Regions from separate parts of the Homo sapiens genome. Here region 2 is linked to region 1. The links are contacts of gene promoters, found by promoter capture Hi-C in blood cells and fetal thymus (Javierre and others, 2016). All regions are on one chromosome and are shown on one strand. Each heading gives the region's core, a stretch centred on a gene start or on the middle of the fragment in contact. The rest is flanking DNA. Distances are from core to core; before and after follow the strand shown.

Region 1 (6,417 bases), core at 2,499-4,998:
GCAGAGATTGGATGAGAACAGCAGTGTTCTGACTCCCAATCTGGTCTTTTTCTACTCCACCAAGCCACATGAGAGGGCACCTTTTGCACGTTAGTGCAGAACAACTCAGCTTCGATTTGTCCCTAAGGTTAAGTGTCCAAACATGTCTCTGTTGTTTCACAAGCTCTCAGTCTAACAAAAGGACCTGAATGGCTTTGGTTATTGGTGGTAGATTTTTTGTTATTCTTGCTGTTGTGTGTTTTGCTTTTGGAAAGTGGAGAGAAATTTAACTAAGACCTAAGTAAAAGTATCATTATTACTTGACAAACTAACGGTCATACAGGTTTTAAAGTTTAGAGTGAAAGAAAAATAGCAGTTGGATCAATCAGGCACCACACACACACATGCACACACGCACGCACACACGCACGCACACACACATGCGCGCGCACACACGCGTGCATGCACACACACACGCACACCCATGGTGATATATAGTGTTCTGTTTCTCTGTGTGAAGGTGAGTGGCTCACTGTTACAATGTTTGAGGAGAGAGAACCCCAAGTGTGCTCAGCCCTGGGCAGGAGGAGAATGTGTCACTTTAAGTCCTTTCCTCTTTAGCTGAGTCATGGTACAACCACGATGGTCTCCAAAAAAAGTGTCTCCAGCCCTCCACAACCAGGGAAAAGGTCACCAATAACACAGAGCTCAAGCAGTTGGGGAAGTGGGTGAAAGGGAGAATAAAATGTCCACAATATAACTGAACTCTCTTTGCACGTTCATCTAAGTTGAAAACTTTTATCCCGAGACAAACTTTCCCCTGCATTGAGCTGTGTTGAATACAGCTGCATTCAGTGAAGCTAAATCTGCCATTTCTGCCATTCGTGAAGATGAATATCAATACATTAAACTCTACACTCTTTTATTTTATAAGAATTTAGAATTTAGAATATCTTCACTCAGTGTGTGCCCAACTCTAAAGCTGTGAGGAATAATATCTGCTCTGATAGATCCTTGGTATAGTATTAAGCAAGAATAATGACACAAATTATAGGAGACTCATTCTGTTCTCTGTATTAACAAAATACAGTACTCTTCAGTGTTAATATATGACCCTTAAAAAATATATAACTGACACTGATTGACTCCTACTACTTGCCAAACATTATGTTAAGTGTTTTATGCCGATAGTTGTATTTAATTCTCACAACTCCATTATGTTGACGCAATTTTACATTTGGGGACACTGAGATTTAGAGCAGTTAAGTACCTGCCCCGAGGCCCATAAACAGTAGGCAACGAAGCTGAAATTCAAACCAAAAGTAGTACAACAACAGAGACTGTGCTCTACTCACTCTAATTTGACTCACATCCCAGCACACAGATCTACAGGACACACATCCTAACATAATTTAAAATGTGTATAAGAAATTGTAATTTAGTTATGTGTACAGTTTTGGCAGAAATTAACGAATAAAATACTGTGTGTCTCAAATTCTGGATCACTTCAAACTGGAATTCCCCCAATGATATCACAAAAGAGCCTCTGATGACCCCCAAATAATCACACACTGGAAGTTTCCACAAATGCCAACTCACTCTTTGGCGGTGAGTGAGTAAAGATAGATTGAGTGGTAGTGACTTCGATGAAACTAGTCGATGGCTTTTATTCTTCGGGTAGCTAAAATTCATTTCCCCCAGTATCCAAGAAATATTTTCACAGCAATGACTTAACAACTTAAATGGAAATATTGAATACACTTTTTTCTTTAAAAGAAAACTGCATATCCTCAGCTTCTTAATCTCAAGCCATAGTCATGCTAGCAGTGGGGCTGTTTTCTGAGCCACTGGCCTACCCACCTTGTGCTTTCCTTGTCTTTAATTTAATTGCCTTCCTTGTCTTTAACAAATGACTCTGCTGTCATTTGTTTCCTATTGTGTTGCATCTGATGCTTTTACTCAGTAAACAAAACTAGAATGTGTTCTGTGATGTTGTTTTAGTTGAGCACAAAATTCAATACATTATCAAGAGAAATGAAACTGAAAGGAGCAAGTCAAGATCGCAGACCTGCGTTTTCTTCTGGGGCCACAGTTGCTGATAAATGATGCAATAATGCCCTCGACAATCTATTCCAGCTACCTCTTGATCTGAAGATCTATGGAAATGGAGTAGTTAGGGGAGGTGGTAGGGTAGCAGTAAAACACTTTCAATTGTTATTAGAATAATTTTGCATCCGCAAGCTGGCAAACGCTATTCACGTCTCTTTACATTGCTCGTTTTATGATGCTCCTAAAGAAAATCCTTGAAAAAAGGAGAAGAAAAAAGAGGTCTGACTAATGGAACAAAAGCTACATCACAGTCTAGTTCTGTCATGTTTTCTCATCCTTAGTAAGATGATGGTTCAATTTTGAATAAAGATTAATTACTTGAATGTGGTTAAAGCATAGTCTAGCCAAATTAATTTTTAAAATGAGAGTCCAGCTATTTTTATCTTATTCTTCACATCCCAGGTGATTTCAATCAGTAAATTTCATAGCAGTGAATATTTTTAAAAAGTATGCTTGGCCATTGGCTTTTACCCATTCGGCATCTCTCTGAATTAAAGTATTAATATTGGGAAACATAACGAGTCTCTCGGAGTGACCTTGCTGACCTATTTTTGACAACATGATTTCGGCTCCCTCATGGCTTGCGATGATAGGTGCTGGTAACATTATCCTTTATGACTAATCTAATTGAAGCAAGTTAGACTTTTAAAAACTAGTTGTGTATGTTAGCTTGACTAGCTTGCTACGCCCTATTTGGTGCTTGGAAAACCAGGCACTGGGTGAATGCTTTTCAATTGCGTCTGTAACTTAGTTTTTCCCTCCTACTGACATAAATGATCCATCTTAATCCTCCCATTCTAGCTGCATATTGTTTTCCAAAACTAAAGCTATATGCCCCAAAACCTTTGCCTTCTATCATGTGGCAGATGACATCTTCCACTGACAGTGAATAATAAATTTACACTCAACCCGCATGGGGAACCTGAACACATAAGCTCCCCACATGCAGAACTATTTCCAAGTGACATTCCCTTCTCTCTTTCCCTTCTACTTCAGTGATGCAGAATAACCATCATATAACAATTAACAATCCTCCTTTAGGGGGATGCTGAATGGAAAGAAAAGAACAGGAGAAGGGCACCTCAATCCAGGTAACGTATTAACAAAAACCCCAGAGCAAACCACAGTCCTTAACAGACACCCTGATAAGGCTCCCAGGACACAGTACTGAGGAAGAGCAAATTCTCCAGTGGGACACATCTCACACGCCAGTGGCTCCTGGTTCTCCCAGCCACATGATCTGTGCCAAAATTCAGATTTAACGCAGTGTCCTCTTTAGTCCCAATGTAATTCTATTTCTAGTTTTGCCAGCCTTAGTTCTGCAAAGCATCAGTATTCTCTTACCAAAAAAAAGTATTAGCTGAAATTCTGGGCCATCTATCACTTATACCCTTTGGTTAAGGACTACTCCCAGTAAGGTATTTTCTGTTGAAGATGCCCACAGCAGTATCCACCCAGGAACCTTGAAAAGGAAGCAGAAATGATTGCATGGGTAACTTACCAGCTCCTGAGGTCTGAATGGCTGCAGCAGCCCCACTCCTTTACCTGATCCCTGCTCTCTCTGTCTCTCTCCCTCTCTCTCTCCCTCTTTCTCTTGTGTACAGATTGCAGGGAACTTAAAGAACTCGCAGGGACAGTGTTTCGAATGACTTAAGAAAGAGAACAGGAACAATACTTCGTTCTCTTTTTCTCAGATGAGTACCTTCGGGAAGAAGGAAGGAAGGGAGGGGAGAGGGAGGAAGTCAACAACCCTTTGCTTTCCTGAAAAAAAATAAGGAAACAGAAGATAGACATCTCATTTTCTCTTAAACAAAATGTTGGAAGGGGCAAAAAAAAAAAATCTTTGAAAAAAGGAATTCCTCAAATATGTTCTCTGCCCTGGGAGCTTTAAAGAGATGAAACGCCTTAGTGGCCTGTCCTGTCCAAACAAACGGTGTTCCAGACAGGCAGGCTCTCCTGAGCCTGCAGCCTCTGGTATCTGGTTTGCAGAACTGACACAGCCGAAAGGGAACAAATCATGTCATGTCGACTTAGAGCAAGGGAGAGCTTGGCCTGTTGTGCTAACCAAGGTAAACCTGCAGCCTGTAAGACAGTGTCGGGGCTGGGCAGCCAGGACTCCTGGCTTTTCTTAGGCCCTTTGAAACACCAGCATTGCTGCAATTCCTCGCTGACTCTAGATCCTTAGAGTTTTTCCAGGATCAAATAGCAGATTTATGCCCACCGAACTTTATACAGTGGACCCAATCCAGCTTCCATCACTGATGGATGAAAAAGGAAAAGAAGCAACTAACCACAACTGCTGCCGGCCATGGTTATCTCAGATCTGTTGTTTATATTATTCTATCCTCTACATTCCTAAGGCGTCTTGGATTTAATCACCTCTGGAAAACTGGAAGGAGATTTCTAATTTGTTTTCAAAATACTGTGAAGCAGCATAGGGTTTAGATAAATCAGCCATGGTGTTCGAAAAAAGATAGGGGAGGCAGGAGCAGTTAAAATGGAGGGAGTAACCTTTATCAAGGTAGAAGACTTGGGGCTTCAGCAGGCAGGCATGAGCTTGCTTAGGCTAGTTGCACTTAGGAATAAGCTTGGTTTTAACTTCTCTGATTTGTGTTATGTCTCTTGTGTCCCTTATTCATCTGGTTAGGACCATTTTCACTGTGAACAGGAACCAGCAGTTATGTAGACCTTTGTGGCAGCAAAAGAAAAACCAGCCTTACACTACTTCCTCATTTCACCCAACTGTGAAAAAAATGGGGTGGACAGATACACCTGATTGCAAAGAGTCATGAAAGTGAGTTCAGGGGAAGAATGATTCTGATTCAGTGACCCTGTAAGATTTTGATTGAGTCCTTATTGGCCTATAGGATTATGTTTTTATTCTGACAGATATTTTTCTATCATCTATCTGTCTATCTATCATCTATCTATCTATCTATCTATCTATCATCTATCTATCTAATCTATCCATATATCTATCTATCTCCCTGTCTATCTAGTTATCTGAATATGTGTGCATGTATCAGAGAGAGACATGAAGATTTTGTTACTCGGTAGGTGTGCACAAGCCAGAGCAGAGTCCCATTCCTTGCATCCGCCACAGCACCAACACTGGCACAACCCATGGCACTGAGTTCTGGCCTGGGTGACCCAGCCTCACCAACAGTGGGGAACACGGATGACCAGAGACAGTCTCTTTGGTTCGCTTAGAGCCACACGCCAACACGTTCCTGTCTCCTGATCCCGGCTCTCGGGCTCTTTGCCCTCTGCTGGCCTTCCTCTACATCCTGCCTTTGTAGAAATGGGAAGGGAAATGAAAATGAAAATCTGAGAAAGCCAGGGAAGGGCATGAGGGAATGGAGCAGGAAGGCCTAGGAATGGAGTCTTTTAAAGGGGGAGAAACACTGGGGCAAACCTTTGAGTAACCGGAGGTGAAACAAGCAGGCAGCTGAAATTCACAATAAAAAAGCAGACGTCCTTGGGAGTGAGGTGGGGTGAGGAGAAGCAATAGGGAGGGGGCAAGGTGTGCGGGGCATCAGCAGCAGAGGAAAGGAGGGACCCAAGGAACAAGACGCTCATGGTACCAACTCCTCACAGGCAGGAAACCGCCTCTGATCACTTGAAGAATCCATTGCAGCTGCACACAGGCCTTCCCATATTTTTACTCCTCTTTGCACCCTCAAGGCAAGGCCAGGGCTGAGCCCCAGGAGTCCAGGCAGAATCCAAAGGATTTCCCTTTTAAGTCTGCAGAATGTGGGGACTGTCACGTTGAGGCTGTGTTGTTGTCTCCAGGCCAGCTGACCCGCCCAGACAGCCTGGATGGGGACATGTGCCATTTCAGGCTGCACGGCTTTGACTGAATGGGGCAGCATCCAGTCGGGATCTGACATCATCCCCGCAGCCAGCCAGGGGACTCTCAAGGCTGCCTTGTGCCAAGCTGCTCCATGCTCACACCGCGTTGCAACCCTGCCTGTGAAATTCACAGAAAAGGCTTTTCCCTCTTTCCTTGTGCTGCCAGTCACCTGAACAGTCACCCTCTAAAACTTGTGAAACCACCCACTGGGTGTCAGGAGCAGAAATTCCTAACCCTCCCATTAGGTTTGGCAGGACAGATTTCTGATCAGTCCACTGGAGCTCTAACTCTGTCCTGGCCTATCTGGATCCTGACTAAAAGTGAAGGATCCAACTGAGACGCATGAGCAGGAATGGCATATGGCCTTGGCTCTCACCCCTCAGGAAAGCCCCATGTTGCACAGCGTATCATAGAGATCACTTGAGTAGAGAGAGGAGCTGCCCACCCCTGGGACGAGATAGGAGGACAGGAGAGAA
Region 2 (6,417 bases), core at 1,686-4,185, 92 kb after region 1:
GGTGGTCTTCAAGGATCTCAAGCTAAAAATCAGATCCTATCCTGGTAGAGTGTACCACCTCTGGCCTTAGGCAATGAACTTCCAGCCAGTGAACCTAATGGTTTCCAAAGGCCAGATGTTCAAAATTTGTCTTTAAACAGGCCCAGCTCATCTTCATGGTTTTAACTGTTATTATAAACTTGTTTCAATTTTGCACCTTGATCCTTAGCCAGATTCTGTGCCTAGGTGCAAAAACAAGTTACACGTCTAGGATCTTTGTGGCTCTGAATAAGGATTGCCAGATTTAGTAGATCCAATACAGGACCTCCAGTTATATTTAATTTCAGATAAGCAATAAATAATTTTTAGTATAAAAATTAACATGCAATATTTGGGACATATTTATAGAAAAACTACTCATTATTTGTCTAAAATTTAAATTTATCTGGGTGCCCTATATTTTATCTGGCAACCTTACCCTGAATAGACATTTCCCAAGAAAGCAGAGCAACAAAACATCTGGCACAAAAGGAAAGTTCTATGATCCTTTTTCCTACTGAGTCAAACTGAAATAACTGACGGATGGATTTGTCTTTCTTAGCATGTGTATTCCCTTTTTACTTCCCAAATGACTGAAGTGGTAAAATAAAAAGCACAAACAATAAAACCATTAAAATGGAAATTTAAAAATCAAGTGAAATAGAAATGGATGGGGACATTTGAATTCCAGAAGCCTAGGCTGATATGGTTTGTTGACCTTGGCATTTGCTTCTGAACTCACTGACACTCTGAAGCCAAAGTAAAACATTATCTGATACAAGAAAGCAGGCAATGAAAGTGTTTTTTTCTGGTCTTTATTCTTAGAGGACTTTATTGTGTGATTCACTATACCAGCGCAGCACATTAGCCAATGTGGTACAAAGGGAGGGCAGGTTCTGGAGCACAGATACCCATGGCACTGGGCCTGAGCCCCACCTACACCATCACTTCACCTTTCTCATCTCATTTCACCATCTGTAATGTGACTTGTAACGTAATGAACACATTACAAATTTAAAATATCGTTACTAGCACTAGGACTGAGAGTATCAGCACCAGCAAATAATAATAATGTGTTCTGTGATGGTTGTATTGAAGACACATAAACATTCTTTAAATGTCTGTTATTATATTAACCCCTGATTTTAAAAGACTAGGATACAATATTAAAATGTGATTCAGTGACAGGCTTTCTTGCAAGGCAGGTCATAAACCCGTCAATCATCCTAGCTAACCACGTGCCTCCTTGGACTTTGTGGGTGAGAAGGAGCACAGGGCTTATTGTGGGGGCTGTCACAGAGCACAGGTATACCAATACATCTTTTCTTTACAACTGCCAATAATTTCCTCAGAGCCTGAAGCCTGAGGATAAATTGTCTTGACCTAAAAGCAAGCCGAAACCAGATGAAAGTATCCCTTCACACCCACGGCAGGGCTACAGGCAGTACTTATCTCAAGGAAATGGCAATGCTTGGCCTCAGTAACAGGAGAAGGAAAGATATGTGTCTGTGGATATCACTGGATTTGCAGACAGGCTAAGGAATGCAAGTGCTTAGTCATGGAGAAATGGCTGCCAGGGAGCTGATAGAATATCAGCGTGACTGTTGCTAGGTTTCTTATCTGTCATCCATGTTTCTATGATTCTCTTTCAAAGGGGAGAGTCAGAGGGTGCCCACCCTGCTCACAGAATCCCTGGAGAAAATATGCTTCATCTTAGAAATAACAATCTGAAAAATGATGATGACAGTGATGATAAAACAGCTAGCATTAGATATTGTGCTGTTTTATATGCCTGCCCTCATTAAATCCTGTGGAAGGTTCTGTTATTACTCCCACTTTACTATGAGAAAATAGATTTGAAAGTGATCCTTTCTTCCAGTAAGTAGCGGGATAAAGACCCCTGGGACTCAGGTGTATTAGTCTGTTCTCATGCTGCTATGAAGAAATACCTGAGACTGGGTAATTTATAAAGAAAACAGGTTTAATTGACTCACAGTTCCACATGACTGGGGAAGCCTCAGGAAACTTACAATCATGGTGGAAGGCACCTCTTCACAAGGTAGCAGGAGAGAGAATGAGTGCCAGTAGGGGAAATGCCATATGCTTATAAAACCATCAGATCTCATGAGAACTCACTCACTTTCATGAGAACAGCATGGGGGAAACCACCCCCATGATTCAGTTACCTCCCATGGGGTCCCTCCCATGACACGTGAGGATTATGGGGATTACAATTCAAGATGAGATTTGGGTGGGAACACAGCCAAACCATATCATCAGGAAAGAAGATTGTTCAGATTTCTGTTCTTATTTGCAAGGCTGGTTTATTTTTGTAGCAGGATGAGCTGTGGACAAAACCCCACAGACACTGAGGTAGTGAAGGAAGTGGCTTTAATCAGCTGGAAGCATCAGCAGACTAACGTCTCAAAATCCAAGCTTCTCGAGTGCACAATTTCTGTCCCTTCACAACACTAAAGATTTTACATGAAAGGGCTGTGATTGATTGAGCAATCTAGGGGGTATGTGACAGAGGCTTCATGTACTGGTAGTCAGAGTGAAACAGAACAGAACAGGAAGTTTCACAATGTCCTTCCATACAATGTCTGGAATCTATGGATAAGATTGGTTGCTAGGTCACGGGTTGAATTTTAACTATCAGGTAAAGTCAGGCAGGCCAAGGCCTGGTTTTGGGTCTGGTTTTGGGTCTGGTGCCTGGTGCCGGGCTGCCTGCTTTTGGTTTCACTTCCTTGTTTCTTCTTAAAACAGGTACTGAGTATAAAACAATATAGAACAATATGGGGGGGTCTCTTTCTCTCTTCTCTCATTTTAACTGATAGAGGTGCAAGATCTGAGGGCCAATTATTCACAAACTTAAATAACTATTAAGTACCTACTATTAGAATAGCATCGAGCTCATCAACACCAGGAATGCAAGGATGGCTGCCACCCACACATGTTTACGATCCAGTTCAGTCTACAAATAAACTGAGGTAGAATATAAATAGAAAAGTACCTACAGAATCTGGGGTCACACTACATCCCTTCTGATGAATGGCCTTTGAGTAGGTGGATTTGCCTATCAAAGGCAGCTAGAGGTATGTGATAGGGGACCTTGCTCCTGATACTTCCCACAAGAGAGGGAGGCTCTAGAGGCCAAGACCAACCCTCAGGACATCAGATATTTGGCTTGGCTGAGAGGTCATTCTGCTGGCTCCTTCGAAGGCATTCCCTGATTCTTCCAGAAGCATGGAGGCCTTCAAACTTTGGGATTCCCAGTTACATCATCCATTGGAGACATTGGCTCTCCTTATTTTCCACAAAAATAATTAGCATCAATTCTTGGACAGAGAACAGAGGAGGAGGTGTGAGGGTAGAGACTGTGACTCACTCTCTGGCCAGGAAGCTTTGCTAACTCACTTTAAAAATTGACAGCCCTGGTCAGTAAGGGTGAGGATGGCTGACTGCAGACGTGGGTGGCATGTCTGTCCTTAGGAAGGCTGTTCCTTAGTTGGAGGTCACAGCCAGGGACCACAACTGAAAGCCTCAGCTCTGAAGGGCAGAGAAGAAGGCCCCCAACAGGGCTTCTGAGCCCAGGTGCCAGATCCAGAGTCAGGGCAACCTGAGGCTTTCTCGGCAGGTACCTCTCCAGTTCTCATGGTTTTCAGAGCCAGTGGCCTGTACAATGGAGATTTCCTCCTTTGCTTTGTGTTCTTCTTGCATTTTTAAACAGCAGTTTCTCAGAACAGATGCTCTCTTCTCTCCTTCCCTATGCCCCTTCTGCACAAACAGCAGATTGCCTGCTTCTGTCATCTTTATAGAGGGAAGGAGAGAAACATGCTAATCATGTTCTTTTTCCGCTTCCTCCTGCTTGCAATTAGCTATGCGAGCCAAGGGCTCTCTCTCCTCTCTTACTCTCTTCCCTGAGGAACAAACCCTCCAAGGAGATTTTCCTGGGCACTTCCCACTAAGCCTGCTTCCCTTAACAGACACCTTGGGTTTTGGCTGTTGTTGTTTTGGATATTTACGTCCTTTGACCTCCTAAGAGCCAGATGTCATGCAGTCACATAACTTCTTGATTTCTAGTTCCCCTGTATATTAAAGACCCAAGAGCATATTGAAATGTATGGAAGCCACCAGCATCAAAATTATTCTCATGCCTCCTTCTCCCAGGGCTGCTGCATCACACAACCACAGGGGCATTAGTCACATAGGGCTGTGTGTCTATCCGATAGTCATGCAACACTGTGCACAGATGTCATGTAAAACAAGCACAACCCCAAGCCATAAAATAAGTTTGTTTTATGACAAAGCACAAGTCATAAAACTTGTGATGAAATGCAACAAAATTCTGTGGCATTTTTTTCTCATGACTGTGTTAATGCTAGTTTTGAAATATCAAACATAAGTTCCCCTCCAACGCTTTTTCGTTTGGTGCAATAAACTCCTGAGTAGCCCACCCATCCAAGTAATCCAGCACTGAGCAAACCCACTAGAAAGCTCCTTTGCAGCTCCCTATTTTGCAGATGCACCATGTAGCAGACAGCTAGAATGGGCCCTTTTAATCCTGAGAAGGAAAAGACTAGAACATTGAGACTTGCCCAAGCATGAGTCACCATAGAACAGTATCTGAGAGAATTTGAAATCAAACAGGCTGGATTCAAACACTTTCCAGACCTTGAGGAGTGGTTCAATGATGCCATGCATAATGATAATGGGGATTCTCTGCCTCCTATAGGTTCTTAATTTATATCGTTTATATATATTCAGACCTATATTTCAGGCTGCTGTGAGGAACAGTGGCCTGGCAGGACTCCTTCTCCTTCCTAGCAAGGTAGAAAGGTAGGGCTATGGCAGGGATCCGTGTCACAGTGGAGAGGCAGCAGTTGGAGTCTAAACAGGAAAATAGAAACTATACAAGTACAAAAGTAGAGAAGATTTAATGCAGGAAATAGATTACACAGATATTTCAGTTTGCATTCCCCAGGAGATCCAGAGAGAAGGATTCGAGTGCAAGTATTTTTGCAGGGAGGTGATGCAAAAATTTATAATAAATGTGCATACATATATATTGCATATTTTATTTTTTTCTTGGAGAACTGGTTGTTAAGCCTTTACCAGCACACATTTGGTGAAATGCATTAATTTAAAGATGATTCTTTCCTACAGGTTATACCATATCAGGACCCTGAAGATGTCATCTGATCCAGCTACCTTTACAATTAGGAAAGTATTGTCTATAGTCTGAGTTATATTGCAACATTTCTTTCCATTCAATTCATCACACGTTTAATGATCATTTACTGTGTATTAGAAAGGTGTCATTAAATCACCGAGTCTTAGAGCTTTAAGAAATCTTTGAGACATTTAAGTTTAAACTTCTCGTTTTCTTAATGGAGATAAAAGTCATATAACATAAAATTCACCATTTAACCATTTTAAAGTGTATTAATACAATTAAGTGGTTTTTAGTCTATTCATAATATTGTCAACCATCACTACTACCTAGCAGCTCCAGAACGTTTTATCACTCCCAAAAGAAACCCTGGGCCCATTTAGCAGGCACTTCCCATTTCTCTCTCCCCCACAGCCCCTGTCAAATGATAATCTATTTTTTGCTATGGATTTGCCTGTTCTAGACATTTCATATACATGGAATCCTGTAAGATGTGGCCTTTTGTGTCTGATTTCTTTCACTTCATTTTCAAGGTTTTCAAGGTTCACCCATGTTGTAACATGTGTTAGTATGTCTCCCTTTTTATGGATGAATACTATTCCATTGTATGGATATACCACTTTTAAAAATTCATTCATCAGTTGATGAACATTGGGTCATTTCCACTTCTTTGGCTACCATGAATAGAATTCATGAACGTTCATGTGTAAGCTTTTGTTTGAACATCTTTCTAGTTCCCTTGGGTGTGGAATTGCTGGATTATGTGATCATTCTGTTTAACTTTTGAGAAACTACCAGACTGTTTCCACAGAGGCTGCACCATTTTACATTCCCTCTAGCATGGTCTGAGGAAAACACCTCACTTTTGAAAGGAGGATTCTAAGGCCCAGGAAGGTTCAGTGACTTGCACAAAGCCATGACAGAACTGGGACCAAAATCCAACCTCCCAGCTTCCACTCTGCTCCTTTGTTAGCCCATGGCCCCACTCAAAGGCCAATGCAACATGTTCTTTCTGTTGTATAACTTAAGGCAGGAAAATAGTTACTGCAGGAAAAAAAATGTAATATTGGTGAAAACAAAAAGGATGAATTTTCCAATACTCTGAGTTCACCAGAAAATTCGATTAATCAGAACGCACCCCCTATCCCCATCTCAATCCCCATCCGTATTGACCCAACTTCACAAATGTCTGTTTACTAAAGCAAATGCTTCCAATAACACACTGG

Evidence for each region. Contacts are between HindIII fragments. The CHiCAGO score rates a contact against its expected background, and 5 or more counts as called.
Region 2: a fragment that was not itself captured here is called in contact with the fragment with the promoter of ZNF366 in region 1 in 2 of 17 cell types (M2 macrophages and M1 macrophages); the score reaches 6.9 in M2 macrophages.

The regions. Positions count from the first base shown.
Region 1 is chr5:72,503,662-72,510,078 of GRCh38, forward strand. ZNF366 (zinc finger protein 366) reads right to left here and starts at 3,749. Exons shown (of 5, transcript NM_152625.3): 1 at 3,590-3,749. The HindIII fragment of the contact is 5,585 bases long and covers 1-4,673 here.
Region 2 is chr5:72,596,269-72,602,685 of GRCh38, forward strand. The region is part of intron 7 of TNPO1-DT (TNPO1 divergent transcript); the gene reads right to left. Among named protein-coding and RNA genes, the nearest start is that of ZNF366, 92 kb to the left of the region's middle. RefSeq lists an enhancer at 2,061-2,160. The HindIII fragment of the contact is 967 bases long and covers 2,453-3,419 here.